Linked DNA regions of Homo sapiens: regions 2 and 3 are each linked to region 1. Evidence: promoter capture Hi-C in 16 types of primary human blood cells and fetal thymus (Javierre and others, 2016). All regions are on one chromosome and are shown on one strand. The core of a region is centred on a gene start or on the middle of the fragment in contact, and the rest is flanking DNA. Distances in the headings are between cores, read along the strand shown.

What was found. The method cuts DNA at HindIII sites, captures the fragments that hold promoters and counts their contacts. A CHiCAGO score of 5 or more calls a contact.
Region 2: a contact is called between the fragment with the promoter of SPATA41 here and the fragment with the promoter of SNRPA1 in region 1, in 2 of 17 cell types (activated CD4 T cells and non-activated CD4 T cells). The highest score is 6.6, in activated CD4 T cells.
Region 3: a contact is called between a fragment that was not itself captured here and the fragment with the promoter of SNRPA1 in region 1, in 1 of 17 cell types (erythroblasts). The highest score is 6.2, in erythroblasts.

The regions. Positions count from the first base shown.
Region 1 is chr15:101,293,364-101,297,451 of GRCh38, forward strand. It overlaps SNRPA1 (small nuclear ribonucleoprotein polypeptide A'), which reads right to left and starts at 1,885. Exons shown (of 9, transcript NM_003090.4): 1 at 1,734-1,885. The coding sequence starts at 1,815. It overlaps SNRPA1-DT (SNRPA1 divergent transcript), which reads left to right and starts at 1,985. Exons shown (of 2, transcript NR_186319.1): 1 at 1,985-2,366. RefSeq lists enhancers at 839-1,470, 2,034-2,083, 2,144-2,233 and a silencer at 1,614-1,803. The HindIII fragment of the contact is 2,362 bases long and covers 21-2,382 here.
Region 2 is chr15:100,349,031-100,353,118 of GRCh38, forward strand. SPATA41 (spermatogenesis associated 41) reads right to left here and starts at 1,688. Exons shown (of 2, transcript NR_028139.1): 1 at 1-1,688. LOC105371021 (a long non-coding RNA gene) reads left to right here and starts at 576. Exons shown (of 3, transcript XR_007064777.1): 1 at 576-652; 2 at 1,345-1,915; 3 at 2,649-3,114. RefSeq lists an enhancer at 856-1,115. The HindIII fragment of the contact is 2,620 bases long and covers 1-2,008 here.
Region 3 is chr15:100,613,929-100,618,016 of GRCh38, forward strand. All of the region lies in intron 4 of ASB7 (ankyrin repeat and SOCS box containing 7), which reads left to right. Among named protein-coding and RNA genes, the nearest start is that of ASB7, 13 kb to the left of the region's middle. The HindIII fragment of the contact is 2,908 bases long and covers 937-3,844 here.

The sequences.
Region 1 (4,088 bases), core at 635-3,134:
TCAAGTCCCCAGTGCCATGAAGCTTAGAATCTGATGACAACAAGGACAAGGACAATAACAATGGCTGATATAGGCAGCTAACATTTATAAGAACATTTACAAGGTGCCTCACACTGTCCTAAGTCGTTTGGGCTAGTTAAGCGGAATCGGCACAACAGGAGTTTACACTTGGAGCTGCTTAGTCTCAGTGCCCAAACGGCGTTCAAACATTGTGGACGACAGTTCTCCACTCTTGCATCTCCACAGGCCAGATTCTTAGAACCCATCAGAACAGCCTCAACATATCACGACAGTTCTCCCTCCCCTCCCCCAGCTCCAATTCAGAATTGAAGATCAATGGTTTAAATACAGTAATAAATCTGTGAACACTCAAATGTTAATTTGTCTAATTTGGGCATAATTATTGTGTTAGGCACTATAAGAAAAGAAATATTCCGAAGAAGCAAGGTCTACTAAAAAAAGAACTTACCCAAAGTTAAAGGACACAATTCAGAGCTGTACTACACGTACTGCATCAAAATACGTATTCTCAACACTGCACATGCTCCATAAAGAGAAATGGCAGAGATCATCAAAAGTGGTGAGTTGGGCCGGGCGCAGTGGCTCAAGCCTGTAATCCCAGCACTTCGGGAGACCAAGGCGGGCGGATCACCTGAGGTCGGGAGTTCGAGACCAGCCTGACCAACATGGAGAAACCATGTCTTTACTAAAAATACAAAAAATTAGCCGGGCGTGGTGGCGCATGCCTGTATTCCCAGCTACTCGGGAGGCTTGAGACACAGGAATCACCTGAACCGGGGAGGCGGCGGTTGCAGTGAGCCGAGATCACGCCACTGCGCTCCAGCTGGGGCGGAAAGAGCGAGACTCCATCTCAACACAACACAACACAAAACAGTGGGATTTCCCAAAGGTCGGCAAGAAATCTAAGCAGATCCCGCAGCGATGCTGCTCCGAGGCCATAGGTCCCCATGGGAACAAATCTCAGGCTACGACAGCATGGTCTTATCCTCAGAGAAGTTGCTCTATCACGTCCCTTTTAAAGCCGTCTCCTGAAATGCCAACTAGCTAGCTGCCCTCCCAGTATCTTACCAAGTCTTGCTAAGGTTGAAATAGTACAGGAATCTGAATAATTGCGAGCGCTTCCACAACTTACACACAGCACCCGGCGGTGCAAGCCTGGGTGACACAGTTCAATTTTTAAAACGTCTTCATATAGGGGAAACGCCAGACAATTAAAGCTACTAAGTAGAAAATACTGGAGGAAACAATCGCGGTTGTTCGGGGACTTAGTTTCCTCCCTCACATTAGGAATAATGAACACATATCCTATCTACGCTCAAAATATCATCTGGCGGCAAGTATTAAGAACCAATCCCGCGCCCTGCACTTGCGTTACAACCATTAATGAGCCGCTCTTCCGGGCCCTCAAACAGCCAGCGGCGAAACAGCCAAGCAAGGCCTAACAGGGCCCCACGAGGACGCACCAGGAAGTAATGAAGTCACCCGTGCCTGTCAAGAGGCACGGCGCTAACAGAAGGCTCCCAGGAGCTTAACCGGATGCTCATCTGGCAACAACGGCAAGAATCAGGCCCGGCGTTCCCTGCGCAGCCCGGTCGGAGCCCAGACAACCGGCCCGCGGGCCAAGCTCCGGCCTTCGGTGCACGCGGCAAAGCGCGGAAAATAAGGCGGCTCGGTGCCGCCTGGGGACTGGCCGCCCACGCCCCCGGACTCACCCCGGAGGTCCAGCTCCCGGTCGCGCACCGCGTTGGTGTACTGCGCCGCCTGCTCGATCAGCTCCGCCGTCAGCTTGACCATCCTGCAGCCTCCCGTTCCCCCGCGCTGTGGAAAGCCCGTGGCCTCCCGCCAGCGAGACGTCCCAGCGTGCCCCGCGCCCCGCCGCCAGGCAGCACCAATCGCAGCCGCCGAGTGCGCGCGCAGCTCGACCGCCAGGCCGAAGCAATCGAAGAGCCACGCCTCCGGGGGCGTTCTTGCCGGAAGTCGTGGCGCGCGCACAGGGGATGTGTCTCGTTCTGGGTTGTTTCCTAGGGTGTGTTTCGGAGTCTGGAGGACCCCTGATTCCAGACGTTGGTGTTTAAAAGTTAAGGCGAATGTGGAAACACCCGAGGGGAACTTTCTCATGCATTAGCGCACCTCGAGGTGGGAGGGGAAGCGGTGACTGTCCTCCCTCCACCAGCCGTCGCGGGAACCCGTGGGGTTCAGTGAAGGGTCCAGCAGTTCAGGTGCCCGCCCCGGGCCTGGGCCTTGGCTCCGGGCTACAGTGTGAGATCCCGGGCTAGGTGGCCCGCCTGGGGCAGGTCGCCGGGACAACCCCACCGCCCCGCAAGTCCAGCCCGGCCTCGGGCACGGTAGGGTTTGCGGTTAAGCTTGTGACCTTTAGACTTCTGAATATTCATATGTATGAAATGTGATATACATAAAAGTGTGCATATCAGGAATTTACAGTGATTAATGACCAGAGTGAACACAGCTGCGTAGCCGACACCGGGATCCAAAACACCGCTATTCTGAAAGCCTCCCTCTTTCCCAAAAGGCAACCGCGAACTCAACACTACAAATTCGGTTTGCTTGCTTTTGCTATAAATAGAATCATGCAGTATGCTTTTTTTTTTGGCCTAGTTTCATGGAGTCTATATTATGTCTGGAGTCCATCCAGGTTGCATACAGAGATGGTTTGTTTGCTTTTGCTGCTGAAGAGAATTCCATTGTATATATTATACCATAAATTACTTATTCTGCTGTTGATAGACATCAAAGTTGTTTTCAGTTAGGGCTATTCTGAGTAATGCTACTATGAATTTTCTGGTACGTGGTTCTGATGCACGTTTGCATGAGTTTGTCCTGGAGTGGGACTGCTGGGACATAGGGTATATCTATCATCAATAAGTAATGCCCAACAGTTATGCTAAGAGGCTGAAATAATATACACACTCCAGCGGTGTGTAAGGGTTTTCATGGCTTCCAGCTTCAGCCTTCTTGGCATTTTAACTCTATAACTTCAGCTATTCTGATGGGTGTGTGGTGGTATTGCACTACTGCTTTGCTTTGCTTTTCTCTAATAACTAATGAAGCTGAGAACCTTCTCATGTGTATGGTGCCCATTCTGATAGCTTCCTTGGTTAAGTGTTCTTTCGAGTCCCTGGCTCATTTTTTTTTTTTCCTTATGGAGTTGTCTGCCTTTTTTCTTATTGATTTGTGGAATTTCTTTATATATTAGGGATATGAACACACTCTGTGGCTTGCCTTTTCACTCTTAATGGTGTTGATGATTAGATTTTTTTTTTTTTTTTTTTTTTTTTTTTTTAGACAGGGTCTCACTCTGTCACCTAGGCCGGAGTGCAGTGGTGCCATCAGGACTCACTGCAGCCTTGACCTCTCAGGCTCAAGAGATCCTCCCACCTCAGCCTCCCAAATAGCCGGGACTATAGGCACAGGTCAACAGGCCTGGCTAACTTTTGTATTTTTTGTAGAGACAAGGTTTTGATATGTGGCCCAGGCTGGTCTCCAACTCCTGAGCTCAAGTGATCCACCTGCCTCAGACTCCCACAGTGCTGGGATTACAGGCGTGAGCCGCCTCGCCTGGCTGAGAAGTTTCCAAGTTTTATGTAGTTCAATTATTTTCTTTAGGTTAGTGGATTGGGTGTGTGTGCATGTGCATGTGCCTTAGGAAATCTTCCCTTACCCCCATCATATTTTCCTATGTGGTCTACTAGACGATTGTTTTGCTTTTCACATTTAGTTCTGCAATCCACCCGGAGATGATTCTCCTTGAACTTTTATTGAAGTATGATATACATATAGAAGAATGCAAACTGAACACACCCAACCAACTAGCATCCTCGTAAGAACAGGACATTGCCACATTCCAGAAGCCCTCCTCCTGTCTTCATCTAGTCACCACCCTTGCCCCAAGGGTAACCATTATCCTGCCATCTTGTATAGATTTGCTTTATCTAGTTTTGTATTTATGCAAATGAAGTACCTTGCATATTTTTTGCTAAACATTATGTTTGTGTGTAGATGTAGTTAATCTATTCTCACTGTAATATGGTATTTCATTGTGGATGTTT
Region 2 (4,088 bases), core at 438-2,937, 940 kb before region 1:
GCCTTGTCTTCATTTCGTGGACAGGCAAGGCCGAATTCCGTTTCACAGATAGAGGACTGAGATCTGGAGGCAGAGGGCAGGAATTAAAAACAAGACAAACAAGAGCCTTATACAGGCAGTGTCTTTCTGAGTCTGATCCCTGTTGTCTTGAGAGCTGCGGTGAGGGAAAGTCGTCTTCAGAGCCCTCAGGGTCAAAGCAGTTTGTTACCCTTGAGATAGACAAAGCTCCTAACCTCTCCAGCTTTTTGCCGACAGCTCGATTCTGATGGGCACTGACCTTTTCCGACCCTGTTTTCAGGAGCCGACTCCTGGCAGGTTGGTTGTAGGGGCCCTCTTGAGTGCTTCACACACAGCAGTCCTGTTGGGGTGAAGGTCACCGTCACTGTGATAATTGTTGTCGTCGTTGAAACCACCCAGCCCGAAAGCAGCATGGGCTGTGCCCAGAGCCGCCGTGCCAGAAGCCCACGCTTAGAAATAGAGGGCCGAAGACCAAAGAGGACTGCGGGTTCTTGGGCCAAACGTGACCCTCTCAAATCCCCCAACTCGGGGATTTCGTTAGCTGGGGACTGGTGTGCCCGGGTTCCAAGACCCCTGCGTAGACTCTGTCTATAGGTGGAAGAAGGCCTTTGCCCCGAGGCATCCAGAGGTAACGGTGAGAGGAACAAGGGCACGTGGGGGATCCCACCACAGCCTCCCCTGAGACCCTCTTCACGCTGGTTGCAGGAGTAGCCAACCCCGCTCCCTGGCAGCCCGTGAGATGCCACATCCCCTCCAGCAGGGGGCGGCCGGCATCGGTCCCGTCTTCCTAAACCGGCGTTGGTGGGAAATGCCGGCACCAGCTCCCTCCCCGCTCCAGAGCCCTGTTTTCCCCATTTGTATTTCACTACTTTCCTGTTGAGCTTGGATTCCAGCCTCAAATTCCGCGATTTGGCCGGCATCCTAATCCCCGAGTGACTCTTGCCAACCACTCTCTGTGGGGCCTGTGTGCTTCCTCCTGGGTTCTGGGGCGCTGGCGGCGTCCGCTTCACCGGGAACGGGAGCCCCAGCCTCCCGAGGCCTTCCTGCCTGGCTCTGGGAATGGCCACTGTCCAGAAAGCCCCGCGGCCGTCCATGCTCGCTCGCTCAGTCAGGCCCTTGTGGGGATATTGCAGAACGAGTCCGAGTTACTATCCCTTTAAATACAGGCGTTTCGGCCTAGCTGCCGCCGGTCCAATCCGCAGCGCTTCCGTGCCCCACTTTCCCGCGTCAGCCTGGCTCCGGCCTCCACCAGGGGGTGCTAGTGAGATCCCAGCCAGCCTCAGAGCTGAGCGTCCAGGGCCTTCAAATGTCCCCATCCTTGAAAAGGCAACTCCAGTGGCATCTTCTGCGGGGAGACCAGAAGCAGCATCTGACGAGGAGACAGCACTGGCGGTCCCGACACAACTGAATCGGCAGGATGAGGGCCCTTAGTGTTAGGCACCGGCGGAGCTGCATCCCACCCCGTCTCGTCCCCTGAGAACAGCTGTGAGAAGCCGCCTATTTTTCATCGTTCTGCAACACACCTTTCCCTTCCTTGGGATATTTCTCCTCTTTCAGCATTGCCGCATCAGGGTTCCAAAGCCCCGTTTCTCTCCTAGTTCTTTCTTTGCTCAAGAAAAGCAGCTTGTCTGATAAACTAAGCTATGTATGATTCGCTGCCAGTACAGACTGAAAAACAAAATAAACTCCCAATTCACAGTCCTCCGTTGCGTAACAGTGAGCAGACGTTCTGAGAAATGCATCGTCAGGCAATTGCATCATTGTGCAAACAATATAGAGTGTACTTACCCAAACCTAAACAGCACAGCCTACTACACACCCAGGCTGTAGGCTGTGCTTCTAGACTACAAACCTGTACAGTGTGGTACTGAACACTGTAGGCAACTGTAACACAATGGTAAGTATTTGTGTATCTAAACATAGAAAAGATACAGTAAAAATATGGTATGAAAGATTGAAACTGGTGCACCTGCCTAGGGCACCTACCGTAAGCTTGGAGCTTACGGGACTGAAAGTTGCTCTGGGTGAGTCAGTAAGTGAGTGGTGAGTAAATACGAAGGCCTAGGACATTACTGTACACTACTGTAGACTTTAAAACCCTGTACACTAGGCCCACACTCAATTTATTTTTAAAAATTTTCTTTCCTTCAATAATATATTCACTTTAGCTTACTGTAACTTTTCTACCTTAAGAATTTTTAAATTTTTTGACTCTTTTAATAACAGCTTGAATACACAAACACATTGTACAGCTATACAAAAATATTTTCATTCTTCATATCCTTATTCTATAAGCTTTTTTCCTACTTTTGAAGTTGTTTATTTTTTACATTTTAAACTTTTTGTCAAATATTAAGACACAAACACACATTAGCCTAGGCCTATACAGGGTCAGGATCATCAATACCACTGTCTTCTGCTTTCACATCTTGTCCCACTGGAAGGTCTTCAATGGTAATAACACACATTCTTAGTAAATGCAAATAGTCATGGCTCAGACTGATATAGTAATGATAGACTATTCAATATGTGGTATTGGACAGCTGTTTATATATTTGTACGAACCTAAGTTAGATTCTGTGGTGGTTCAAAAATATATCCTCTAATTATGACCTGCTTCCCTTCAACAGGTGTACCTAATTCCTCTGCCTAGAAAGTGTGCTGGAATTACTGCCTGGCTTCTGATGAATAGGGCGTATTGAGAGTGATGCTTTGTGAGTTCTGAGGCTAGGTCATAGAAAGGATTGAACTTATTCCTGAATGTTGCTCTTGGATCACTTGCTTTTTTGGGAACCACCAGCCATGTCATGAGGACACTCAAGCAACCCTGCAGAGAAGCACATGTGTGGAGAGGCACTTCTTGGAAAGGAGGCCAACTTGCCAGAACCAACTAATTTGTCATGTGAGTGAGTCATTTTGGAAGCAGATCCTCTACCCTCAGTCAGGCCTTCCGATGATTTCAGCCCCCAGCCTTTGAGTCTGCCCCAAACACCATGAGTAGAGACAAGCCCTTCCCACTGTGTCCACCCTGGCTGAATTCCAGACCGTTAAAAAAACAAGAGAAAATAAATTATTATTAGTGTTTTGAGTCACTAAGTTTTGGACTAATTTGTTATGCAGCAATAGCTAACAACTACAGAGTCATAACACAAACTAAAATTAATTCTAAGGCATGTTAAAGATTTATATGAAAGCATTCATCTAATGGAGGTGTGCAAGAAGTGGCTATAAAAAATTTAGGGCACCCAAAAGCAACCTGTAGGCTGAGCAGGGTAAGTACATCTGCAAGAGCAGCCAGATGGCTAGTTGGTCCCTGTGTGCAGCCTCTCTACCCACCCATGGTATAGGTCCAGGAATGGAACTGTTTAGCTTCCCTAGGAAACAATGAATGTGGTGCTTGCATTGTGTTGCTGACACCATCAGAGAGGAAATGGAAGTCCCAGTGTCCAGAAGCTAAACAGAAACACACACACACAAAAGACAGAAGGAAAGAAAAAAAGGGCCAAAATATCCCACAACAAAGGGAAATATAGTCATGATACATGCTTAACTTCAGAAAAGACTTATATAATAATTATATCAAAATCATAATGTAAACACTGTGCAATGATTTTCAACTTTTAGAATCAACCAAAAAGAAATAGCAGAATATATCATCCCGGCTGCAGAATCAATTGTAAAAGTTGTCATCCATAACAATGTCAAAGTAAAAGAGTAGATAACAAAGGAGAAGAGATGGAAGTTAAAAAGAAACAAAGAAACGTATAGGGGGCAAGTTCCCTCATCTTCCAAAGTGAAGAGAAAGATATTGCCTATAGTTGATAAAATAAGAAGTAAAGATATACATGTATACTTTGAATTCACAAAGGTAATTAATAAAAGAAATAAAAGTCTCATATTGGGATGGGAATGTGATAAAAAGTGAGGTAAATCCTTATCCATCATTGTAATACATCACTTGCCATATCTAGTCTTGACATATAAAAAAATTAAGAACAATTTTAATGGTATGAAGAAAATGATCAGAAAAATTAAAACCAGAAATAGTTAAAAGGATTGCTTTCAGCAGT
Region 3 (4,088 bases), core at 1,141-3,640, 680 kb before region 1:
TGCTTATCCTTCTGGAGTATTTCCTGACACTATTACATGGACTCATAGAAATTCAGTCATATGACCAAGCGTGGTAGCTCACGCCTGTAATCCCAGCACTTTGGGAGGCCGAGGTGAGTGGATCGCCTGAGGTCAGGAGTTTGAGACCAGCTTGGCCAACGTGGCGAAACCCCATCTCTACTAAGAGTAAAAAAATTAGTTGGGCATAGTGGCCAGGTGCCTATGATCCCAGCTACTTGGGAGACTGAGGCAGGAGAATCACTTGAACCCAGTGGGTGGAGGTTGCAGTGAGCTGAGATCATGCCACTGCACTCCTGCCTGGGCGAAATTGTGAAACTCTGCTCAAAAAAAAAAAAAAAAGAAAGAAAGAAAGAAAGAAAAATTCTGTCGTATTATGTTGTGTGTGGTTTTGAACATCAATGATAATACTGACTGTATAATTCTACAACTGTTGTTTTTTATACAACTGTGTGACTTAAAGACTTTTTAATAGCAGGAGTCTGCAAACTTGTTCTGTAAAAGGCCAGATAGTAAACATGAGAGGCTTTGTGTGCCGTACTGGCTTTGTAACTACCCAGCTCTGCAGTCGGAGCCTGGAAGCAGCCACAGATAGTATGTAAACTAATGGGTGTGGCTGTGTTCCAGTAAAACTTTATCAAAACCAATGGTGGGGGGAAAAAAAGAAAAAACCAGTGAGGGGCTTAGAGGCTGTAGCAGGGGCATCCAGTCTTTTGGCTTCCCTGGGCCACACTGGAAGAAGAATTGTCTTGGGCCATGAATAAAATGCACTAACACTTAACAACAGCTGATGAGCAAAAAAAAAAAAAAAAAAAGCAAAAAAGTCTTATAATATTTTAAGAAAGTTTATGAATTTGTGTTAGGCTGTATTCAAAGCTGTCCTGGGCTGCATGCCCACCGTGGGCTGCAGGTTGGACAAGCTTGGGCTATAGTTTCTGAATCTTTCTCTCTGTATATATGTATGTATCTAGTTACGTGCAGCATAAGGACATTTTGCTCAATCATGGACCCCATTTACAATGGTGGTCCCATAAAATTATAATACCATGTTTTACTGTACCTTTTCTATGGTTAGGTACACAAATGCCATTGTATTACAGTTGCCTCCAGTATTCAGTACAGTAACATGCTGTACAGGCTTGTGGCCTAAGAACAGTAAGCTATATATAACCTGGGTGTGTAGTACGCTGTGCCGTCTAGGTTTGTGTGAGTGCATTTTATGGTGTTCACACAAGAGCGAAATCACCTAACAACCTAGTCCTCAGAATGTATCCCTGTTGTTAAGTAGTATATATGACTGTATATCTATATATATTTTAATAGCTTTATTGAGATGTAATTCACATGCCACAGAATTCACTCATTTAAAGTGTACAGTTAATGGCTTTCGGCATATTCATGGAGTTGGATATTCATCAGCAAAGTCAATTTTAAAACATTGTCATTACCCCCAAAGAAACCTTCTGTTGGTTCTATTAATACATATTGATTCACTCTTCTTTTCAGCTGCTGAATATAGTATTGATAGGTATGGATATACTATCATTTGTTTATTCTCTTTTATTTTTTGAGAATGGCTGGAATTTTCACAGCAGGAGATTTTGTTTTTTGAAAAGGTAGTGCATACATACATGGTTAAAAAGCCACTTAAAGCTGATCAGTGAGGGCAAGTCTCTAACTTTTAGCCCCAGTCCTTTACTCTTCTTCTAGAGGCCATCTCTTTCACCGGTTTCTTTTGTACCATCCAGAGATAGTCTATGCATGTAGGCAGAAATATTTTTCCGTTTTCTACCTTGTAGCCAGCTCCCTTTTTAAAATGTTCTGTTCCTCCTCTTGATTTTTTCACATAACAGTTAATTTCGTGATAGTTCCTTATCTGCATAGGACTCTGTCTCAGATTCCATCGTATGGATGTAATTTATTTACACTTCTTATTGTTGGACATTGTAAGTTTTCATTTTTCTGCTACTAGAAACATTACAGAGAATGTCCTTGAATGATCGTGTTACATTATGTGAGAGTTTATTTCTTGACTAACTCCTAGAAGTGCATTTGCCAAGTCAAAACATTTTTTATGGATATTGGCAAGTTGTCCTCCGAAGAGATTGTCATCATTTTATGTCCTTACTGACCGGGCAGGATAGTGCCTGTTCACCTGCCTTTGCTAGTGATGTACTTACCAGATGGTTTTTCTCTTTCCTGGTGTGATATACCTGCCTCTCTTTTTCTTTTTTTTTCTTGGAAAAAATGACATATGAGTAACAAACATTGCAAGACTGGGCTTTTTGTCTTACTGATTTGTTGGAATTGTTTATATATTCTCCTTTGTTAGATTTTGCAATGTTTTCTCTCTTTCTGTAGTTTTTTCACATTCTTGTTTTTGTTGTCGGGCAGAAGTCTACATTTCAATGTAGGTGAATTATGGTTTTCTTTAGCCTTATCGTTTGTGCCCTTGGTGTCTTGTTTAGGAAGTATACTGCAGGGTCATTATTTGCCTTTGTTTTCTTCTAAAATGTTTTATGGTATTTAGCTTTTTAATCTGTTCAGAATTGGCTTTGGTGTATATGAGGTAGCCTGGTACAGTTTCACTTTTTTCCCATAAAGACAGCCTAAATCATGCCTTCTTTCTTCATTACTGTGCACTAGGTCAGATATAAGGTTTTCATATATGTGTGGTTCCATTTCTGAGTTTTTATTTAAAACAACAAATATTTTGGATAAGCCCTGTATTTGTTTTTATGTAGCACCTTTTACCTGATACCCTTTCCCTAGTAGAATAAGAGATTCAGAAAGTGTTTCACCCAGTGTATTATGAACCAACTTAGAAAAATTAGTAGAAGCAAACACCTACTGCCCACTTGCTTATGGCCACCTGTGGTGCTTAGGCATGCTCTGTATTTAGTGTAGTCCTGGCTTATGACCTCTAGATCAGTGTAGCCAACTATGTGTTTAATGTCTGCACTCTCATGGCTCATAGACATCGCCAGCACAGCACAAGCTGTGTCCATTCTCACCACGGTGTTCATTCTAGTAAGTGTCACCACAGCCTCTGATTGCCATGCCAGAAATCTAGAAACCATCCTTGGTACCTTTTCCTTACCTCTAATATGACTGATTGCTAAGTCTTATTGATTCTGCCTCCTAAAAAGTTGTCAGAGCTTTTCACTTCCTTTCCCTGGAGATGCCACCCCATTTTTGGGCCAGGAAACATTCCTCACCAGGACTGCTACAGTGGTCTCTTCCATCCCTGCCTCCAGTCTTGCCCCCTCCCAACCAGTCTCCAAATAATGTGACCTGTTAAAATGGAAATAAAAATATTTCCTTTTAAAAATCCATAATTGGTTTCCCATTTCTCTTAGGATGATATTCAAAGTTTATAGTGTGATCCACATGGTGCTGCAGTGCCTGGCCCCTCTTACCTTTCCAGCTGCAGCTTTGAGCCACAGCCCCTCTGCATTCTTTCAGAGTCACTGAGTGCAAAGGTTTTGGCCTGGGACCCTCTTGGGTCACGCTTCTGCTCTCTCCCCACCCCTGCCCCATCACCTTGCTCTGCCTGCTTCTCTCTCAGCTCTCACTGATCGTTTTCTCAGGGAAACCTCTTACCAGCCAGACCGGGTCACCCGGGATCCTTGTATATATCCAGACCAGGTTACCTAGGATCCTTGTATATATCCCTGCTATGTGATACTGTTGTTCCCTGTGTGATGTTATCCCTCTGTTATATGATATTATTGTTCCCTGTACTTTTTTATTATTACAGCTATCATAAGCGTAATGAATTGTTTTATAGTTCTTTATTTTATGTCTATATCTCTGATTCATCTAAAGCTTCTTGAGGGTAGAACCCATATCTGTTTTGCTTCCGTCAAGAAAGAAAGCGAAAACTAACACCAGTTATCTAAAGTAATTGTTCCTCAGTTTTACAGAGACAAGACCAATCTTTTCTTTTATCAAAAAATACTGGAAATGGGCCGCGTTATGGTGGGATTATAAAGTTGCTTGAATGCATCATGCCTCCCCCCACCCCCCACGGGGTCTCCCTGTGTCACCCAGGCTGCAGTGCAGTGGCA